Regions from separate parts of the Homo sapiens genome. Here region 2 is linked to region 1. Evidence: promoter capture Hi-C in 16 types of primary human blood cells and fetal thymus (Javierre and others, 2016). All regions are on one chromosome and are shown on one strand. The core of a region is centred on a gene start or on the middle of the fragment in contact, and the rest is flanking DNA. Distances in the headings are between cores, read along the strand shown. Region 1 holds the start of ASPRV1 (aspartic peptidase retroviral like 1). Region 2 overlaps TIA1 (TIA1 cytotoxic granule associated RNA binding protein).

Region 1 (3,976 bases), core at 521-3,020:
TATCTGCAAAAGTCCATCTGCAGAAAGGGCTTCCTGGTCTTGCGTGTGGCTGGGCCATTTCTCTGGATGCAGGTTTTTCATTATACAGTCTTCTCAAAGAACCACCTGCTCTCAACACCTTCTCGGTGACTCCATTTCCCCTCCTCTGGGCTCCTGGAATGCCACAATGGCCCCACCTTAGCCAGGCAGCTGTGATGAGAGGTGTTGACCCAACTGCCTCTCTGCTGGCTCACTGAATCAGGTGGAAGGGGCTGGGGACAGCACAGTCTTGCATTGTGGTTGGGGACCTGGGCCATCCAGAGGCAGGACTGTCCAAAGGCAGGGTACTGCTGGGATTCCGCCAGGCACTGGGTGATGCATGGCATAGGGAGCTGAAGAGGGACAGGCTCTTGGCCAGGAAAAACAGCCCCAGAGCCACAGGTGTGCCATCGAGTCTTCCTCCTCTCCCATCCTTAATCACTCCTGTTTGGTGACAGCACACAGCTAGGCCTGGAGCCCAGCAAAGAGCCCCTGGGTCCCAGAGGAAGTTGTTCTGGGGGCTGGAGACAATCACAAATGCCAGGTTTGTGAGCCCCAGACTCTGGTTCATAGCAAGAGGCAGACTTGTGAACAAACCACCAGATCACACCGTAAAACACGCTCAACGAGGAGTGGGTGCCCTTTCTAGGGACAGGCAGAAGGCTCCATGGAGTGACCTTTGAATGGGGACATAAAAGTGGATCCCTTCAACAGCCCCTGCACAGCCCCAAGTCAGGCCTCCAGCCCTTGGACTCACAGATGTCCTCTGTAGACGACTGGATGTCCTCCCGTGCTACCCTTTACCCCTGCAGCGAGGGGCACAGAGCCAGAGCCCTCCAGGTCCTCACCACTGGCATCACCAACATAGTGGACATTTTCCCTCTCAGAATGAAAAGGGAGTGAAATTTCCCGTGATCTTTCCACAAATGACCAGCTTGGGGAGTGGGAGAGGAAGTGCTGCAGTGCCTGGGGAAGGGGCCCTGGAACAGTTCCTGGAAATGGAGAGGGGTGGATAGGGTGGAGACAATGCTCATGGAGTGCAGTATGGGGCCTACCCAGAGTTGCTTGGCCACCCCTCTGCCTCTGAATCAGGGGTGATCAATGAAGGAAAATTACTGCAGCAGTTGAGTCCATGTAAGATGATTGTGCACGTGTGTGTGTGTGTGTGTGTGTGTGTGTGTGTCCTCACTCACTTAAAAAAGACCATTTCTGTGCATTCTTTATGCTGGAACCCTCCTCTGCCTCCCTCTCCAGGAAATCCCATAGGATCCCATACCTGCTTTAGAATGTGTGTGAGACACTTCCCAGTGCCTGGCATGTGGTAGGAGCTCAGTACATGTAAACTGTTTTCCTTTGACCACTCAAAGTAGTCACTTGTTGGGGAGGCCAATGGCGGCTTCCCCGGTCTCTGAGCTGATGGGCGTCTGGTCCCTGCCTCCCCTTCCTTCACTGGCTGATGACAAATACCTGAATGTCATCACATCCTCCGTGTCCTCATCTGTTATTCTGGAACACAGGCCAGGGAGGGTACAGGGTAGTCCCCCTTCAACAGAGGCTGGCCTTTCTTGGGATGTGGGCTGGCTGGTGTTGGTCCAAGGATGGATGCAGAGGGTGAGGCACCCATCCTGCTAGTCCGGCCGGATGCTGGCAGGAGGGCGGGGTGAGGAGGGGCGGAGCTTCCAGAACAAAGGAGAATGGGGAGCCCAGGGGCCAGCCTAGGCATCAAAAAGGCTCTGCAGAGTGAACAGGCCACAGCACTGCCTGCCTCTGCCCCAGCAGTCAGCCAGCCGACCGCGCCTGCTCCCTCCTGCTTGCCCAAGGCCGGGCAAGTCATCCCCACTCTGCTTCGAGAGGCCCCGTTTTCCAGCGTGATTGCGCCGACACTGCTCTGTGGGTTTCTCTTCTTGGCGTGGGTTGCTGCTGAGGTTCCAGAGGAGAGCAGCAGGATGGCCGGGAGCGGAGCCAGGAGTGAGGAAGGCCGCCGGCAGCATGCCTTCGTCCCGGAACCTTTTGATGGGGCCAATGTCGTCCCAAACCTCTGGCTGCACAGCTTTGAAGTCATCAATGACCTCAACCATTGGGACCATATCACCAAGCTAAGGTTCCTGAAAGAGTCCCTCAGAGGAGAGGCCCTGGGTGTCTACAATAGGCTCAGTCCCCAGGACCAGGGAGACTATGGGACTGTGAAAGAGGCCCTCCTGAAGGCCTTTGGGGTCCCTGGGGCTGCCCCCAGCCACCTGCCCAAAGAGATCGTCTTTGCCAACAGCATGGGTAAGGGCTACTATCTCAAGGGGAAGATTGGCAAAGTGCCCGTGAGGTTCCTGGTGGACTCTGGGGCCCAGGTCTCTGTGGTCCACCCAAACTTGTGGGAGGAGGTCACTGATGGCGATCTGGACACCCTGCAGCCCTTTGAGAATGTGGTAAAGGTGGCCAATGGTGCTGAAATGAAGATCCTGGGTGTCTGGGATACAGCGGTGTCCCTAGGCAAGCTGAAGCTGAAGGCACAGTTCCTAGTGGCCAATGCGAGTGCCGAGGAAGCCATCATTGGCACTGATGTGCTCCAGGACCACAATGCTATCCTGGACTTTGAGCACCGCACATGCACCCTGAAAGGGAAGAAGTTTCGCCTTCTGCCTGTGGGAGGGTCCCTGGAAGATGAGTTTGACCTGGAGCTCATAGAGGAGGACCCCTCCTCAGAAGAAGGGCGGCAGGAGCTATCCCACTGAGAAGCCACCTTTTCTTTAACCTCCTAAATATTGGTGGGAAGACCCACCGCTGTGGGGGGGGTTGCATATCCTCATGGGGGTCACTGGGCTTGGCCAGTCTGCTTATCAACTCTTGCTCTTCTCTCCCCTTTGCCTCCCTCTGCAGGGGCCTTAATCTGCCCCTGGTAGGGGAGGCTTCCACTGAACAGGCACAGGTGAGGGAGAGCAGGCTGGCTTAGAGGGACAGGGTCCCCATGGTCATCAAGCTGCTGTTGATGACAAAGACTCAAAGGCTGGAAGAGCTCCCAAGGAAGCTAGAAATGCTTGTCTTTGAAAGAACTGTGGGACCCCTTCAGATTCCCTGAGGTATGGCTTGGTCACTCTCAGGTCCTCAAAGCCTGTCTTAGTTGGGCTGGGTCCTAGCTGCAGGGTCTTTGTGAGGGTCACAGTTGCTCTGGGACACCTCCCTGAAGAGCCTTTCCACCTGTACAATCGTATTTTCTTTCTGTCATTTGCTTTGAAGCCCATTGTGCCTTATGCCAATAATTCAATTGCTGCAAACACCAATAAAGATTGATTCATGGAAAAACCATGTAATGTGTTGATTGAGGATGAGAGGAATGTGAGAGGGAGTCAGCATCAAAGACAAGGGAGATTCACATGTCTACTGAGTGCCTAGCTGGAGGTATAAGAACATATACACAGGGATGACAGGTCTTGGATTTTCTAAGACAGTCTCAGCATAAAATATTTTGACTTATTCCCTCCAGAATTGCTCTCATTATTTTGAATCGTCATAATTCCTCTACTTATTTCAATCTGTAGTATTTTAGCATACAAATTGCCTCTATACCCAAAAGTGACCCTAAAGTTTTATGTGAGATGTCTTGATTGGGGATTGGGAAATTATGGTTATGATAAACAAACAGGAAAGTGTCTGCTGGGCAAATAGGTTCTTACAGCTGTCCAGGAGCGAGAACTTGGAGGCAGAAAGCAGGGCCAGGAGACAAGTGTTGACCTGTGTGGGGCAGCCCAAGGGCATGCTGGAGGACGGGGGAGGCTGTGGCAAGGCAGGGTCCCGGCGGTGGGAGGTCAGCTTCTTCTTGGAGGGACTTGGAACAGAGCCTGAAACTAGATGACCTGATGGAGGGGAGGACATTCCCAGATCTGGGAATGGGGTGTGCATCTCTTTTAGGGGTCCATCTCGTATTTGCTTCCAAATTTCTGTTTCTTTTTCTGGAGTGCAGCAGGGC
Region 2 (3,976 bases), core at 1,056-3,555, 260 kb before region 1:
TCACTTTGTTGCCCAGTCTGGCCTCGAACTCCTGGCTTCCACCAGTCCGCCCGCCTTGGCCTCCCAAAGTGGTGGGGTTATAGGCATGAGGCACCGTTCCTGGCCATCTAGTATCTCTTAATCAAAACCACTGTTTATCCTCACATCCCTTCCCTAACTGTATCCCCATTTCTTGGCTATAATTCTCAAGAGTTGTTTGCATATGCTTCTACTTTATCTCCCATTCACAACCACCAACATAGATACATCTCTGTTTTTTTTCCACTTTTTTGAGTGAGTAGTTTTATTTTTTTCCTGAGGAGCTGTATCAAAGTATCATAAACTGGATGGCTTAGAGCAACAAAAATTTATTTTCTCAATGTTTTGGAGGCGTGAAATTCACAATCAAGGTGTCAGCATGTCCATGCTCTTTTGAAGGCTCTGTAGAAGAATCCTTTGTTGCTTCTTCCAAGCTTCTGGTGGTTGCTGGTAATTCTTGGCATTCATTGGCTTGTAGCTGTATAACTCCAATCTCTGCCTTCATCTTCACATGACCATCTTCTCTCTTTGTGTATCCATATAATCATCATCTTTTTTTTTCGAGACAGGACCTCACTCTGTCACCCAGGCTGGAGTGTGGTGGCACAATCACAACTCACTGCAGCCTTGACCTCCCAGGCTTAGGTGATCTTTCCATCACAACCTCCTAAGTAGCTGGGACTACAGGTGTTGCAACACCATGCCCAGCTAATTTTTCTATTTTTTGTAGAGACAGGATTTTGTCATGTTGTCCAGGCTGGTCTCGAACTCCTGGGCTCATGATCCACCTGCCTCGGCCTCCCAAGTGCTGGGATTATAAGTGTGAGCCACCGTGCCCAGTCTGATCTTTACTTCTTATGAGGACTTGAGTCATTGGATTTGGGGCCCACCTTAATCCAGTATAACCTCATCTTAATTACTTCGGCAAAGACCCTGTTTCCAAATAAGGCCATATTTCACAGATACCAGGGTATAGGACTTCATATCGTTTTGAGGGACACAATTCAACACATAACATTAGTTAAGCGTCTCATGGAGTTCGGACTGGTTGGGGTGATAATATTTGTTTCTTTTTAAGAATGTGCATTTCCTGCCAGGCACAGTGGCTCATTCCTGTAATAACAGAACTTTGGGAGGCCAAGGCAGGAGGAGGACTGCTTGAGCCCAGGAGTTAGAAACCAGCCTGGGCAACAGCAAGACCCTGTCTCCATTAAAAAAAAAAAAAAAAAAAAGCCTGGCGACCTAGTCTGTGGACCCCGAATCCCTCCCATTGCCTGTTGCAACCAGTAAAGGCTGTTCCTACCATAGTAAAGAAATTAAAAAAATAAAAAAAACAGCCAACCTTGTTGGTGCATGCTTATAGTCCTAGCTACTAGGAGGCTGAGGTGGGAGTATCACTTGAGCCCAAGGAGTTCAAGGCTACAGTAAGCTGTGATCATGCCTGGATGACAGAATAAGACCCTATTTAATTTTTTTTTAAAGCATTTCGTTTTCATATTTCAAGAAAGGCCTTGAATTTGCCTGTTCCTTCAGTAGTAGATTAAGCTTACCTTTGATGTGTGCACACAAAAGTTACACTCCATTTACTTTTTAGTCTACTCTAAGCTGGTTTTACTCTCACTTTGTACCAATGCTACTCTATTTTCAAGGTCACCTCTTAACCTCTGTTTTCTTGGCTCCCTGGACCATACACTTTTGTGGCTTTCTTCCTTCATCACTGGCTACTCCTCCCTAGTCACCTTAGCTAGTGATTATTCCTTTACCCATTTTTCAAGTTTTGCTGTTTTTCAGGGCTCTGTCCTAGGCTCTTTCTCTAGTCTGCATGAATTTTGTATCTTCAGTCTACTTCTCTGCGTTCCACATTTATTAACAAATGGTCTTCATTTATATGTCTCACAGGCATCTCAAAGTTTTTTCTTAATGGAGCTTTTTGTTTCTTCCTCAGACCTGTTCCCCTTTTCTTTCCTAGTCTTTCTCCGCATTTCAATAAATGCTGTCTTTCCAATTTCTCTAGAGGAACCTAAGAGTTATCTTTTCTCTCCTTTTGCTTGTGGTGTCCCCTCCAGCCCCCATTATTTTGGCCTTGAGTTTAAGTTACATTCACTGCTACTGCAATGCTCCTGGCCACCAACACTTTTTAAAAATCTAGAATATTGCACAAGTTTCATAAAGTATCTTTATCCCCTTACTACCCATTATCCTAAGCCATTCTCCTCTTAGCGCTAAGAATGGCCTTCTTGCCGGGTGCGGTGGCTCACGCCTGTAATCCCAGCACTTTGGGAAGCCAAGGCAGGCGGATCACGAGGTCAGGAGATGGAGACCATCCTGTCTAACACGGTGAAACCCTGTCTCTACTAAAAAAGAAACCCTGTCTCTACTAAAAAATACAAAAAAAAATTAGCCGGGCTTGGTGGCTGGCACCTGTACAGGAGAATGGCAGGAACCCAGGAGGCGGAGCTTGCAGTGAGCCAAGAACGCGCCACTGCACTCCAGCCTGGGAGACAGAGCAAGACTCCATCTCGAAAAAAAGAATGGCCTTCTTAAAACATAGGTCATGATGATTCCTTGCTTAAAATCTTTCAGTTTCATTCTCTGACATTCTTTTTTGCTCGCTGGATTCCACTGAAACTAGTCTTTCACATGCTGCTTTCAGATGCATACCAAACTTTTGTGCCTTAACACACTTTGCAATACTTTTCTCTCTACTGGGGCTTTCTTCCTCATTGTTTTGACTTGGCTATCTCCTATTGCTGTCAGGCTTAGTTTAAATGTCATTTCAGAGAGACCTTTCTTATTCATCCTGTCTGTAGTAGATCCTTGTGCCCATATTCTCTATCTCAGCCTTTTGTTTCTGTCATAGGTCTTACCACAATATGTAATTGCTTTATTTGTTCCCCACAAAAGAATGTAAGAGACCATGTATGCTTGTTTACCAGTGTGTCCCTAGCTCTTAACCGCATGCCTGGAACATAACTGTTCAATATTTATTTGTTGGATGAATGAGAAACCAAATATTGTTAACAAGCTTGTTAGATTGTTTAAGATTTTCTTCTATAGTAGTCTGAGTTGCATGAACTTTATGATATCTACCTCATTAGGGCTGTCGGGCTCACGACCTTTTCAGATGATTAATGTTCCCAAAATTTAATATTCAAATAAGAGAAAAACAATACAAAAGCACCATTGGGTTGAGCATGGTGGCTCATGCCTGTAATCCTAGCACTTTGGGAAGCTGAGGTGGACAGATCACTTGAGGTCAGAAGTTTGAGACCAGGGCCGGGCACAGTGGCTCACGCCTGTAATCCCAGCACTTTGAGAGGCCGAGTTGGGAGGATCACGAGGTCAGGAGATCGAGACCATCCTGGCTAACATGGCGAAACCGTGTCTCTACTAAAAATACAAAAAATGAGCCAGGCGTGGTGGCAGGTGCCCGTAGTCCCAGCTACTTGGGAGGCTGAGGCAGGAGAATGGCGTGAACCTGGGAGGCAGAGCTTGCAGTGAGCCGAGATCACGCCATTACACTCCAGCCTGGGCCACAGAGCGAGACTTAAAAAAGAAAAAAAAAAGAAGAAGAAGTTCGAGACCAGCCTGGCCAATATGGCGAAACCCCATCTCTACTACAAATACAAAAATTAGCCAGGCATGGTGGCAGATGCCTGTAATCCCCGCTACTCAGGAGGCTGAGGCAGGAGAATCGCTTGAACCCAGTTGGCGGAGGTTGCAGTGACCCAAGATCACACCACTGCACTCCATCCTGGGTGACAGAGCGAGACTCTATCTGAAAAAATAAATAAAATAAAATTTAAAAATATAAAAAGCACCATTGCATTTTAGGAAAGCTATCATATGTTGTGTATTTCATAGAGCATTTTCACTTAAACATTTGTGAAAAGCACCAAGTTTTCTCTACTGCTAAGAGTTGTTTAACATCAACTAATAGTGACTTCTTTATTGTTTC

Evidence for each region. The method cuts DNA at HindIII sites, captures the fragments that hold promoters and counts their contacts. A CHiCAGO score of 5 or more calls a contact.
Region 2: a fragment that was not itself captured here is called in contact with the fragment with the promoter of ASPRV1 in region 1 in 11 of 17 cell types (total CD8 T cells, activated CD4 T cells, monocytes and 8 more); the score reaches 7.9 in total CD8 T cells.

Annotation. Positions count from the first base shown.
Region 1 is chr2:69,959,425-69,963,400 of GRCh38, reverse strand. It overlaps ASPRV1 (aspartic peptidase retroviral like 1), which reads left to right and starts at 1,770. Exons shown (of 1, transcript NM_152792.4): 1 at 1,770-3,312. The coding sequence starts at 1,965. The coding sequence ends at 2,744. PCBP1-AS1 (PCBP1 antisense RNA 1) reads left to right here. Exons shown (of 11, transcript NR_033872.1): 11 at 1-1,138. RefSeq lists a silencer at 1,590-1,884. The HindIII fragment of the contact is 12,271 bases long and covers 1-3,976 here.
Region 2 is chr2:70,217,013-70,220,988 of GRCh38, reverse strand. The region is part of intron 7 of TIA1 (TIA1 cytotoxic granule associated RNA binding protein); the gene reads left to right. Among named protein-coding and RNA genes, the nearest start is that of C2orf42, 28 kb to the right of the region's middle. The HindIII fragment of the contact is 1,480 bases long and covers 1,566-3,045 here.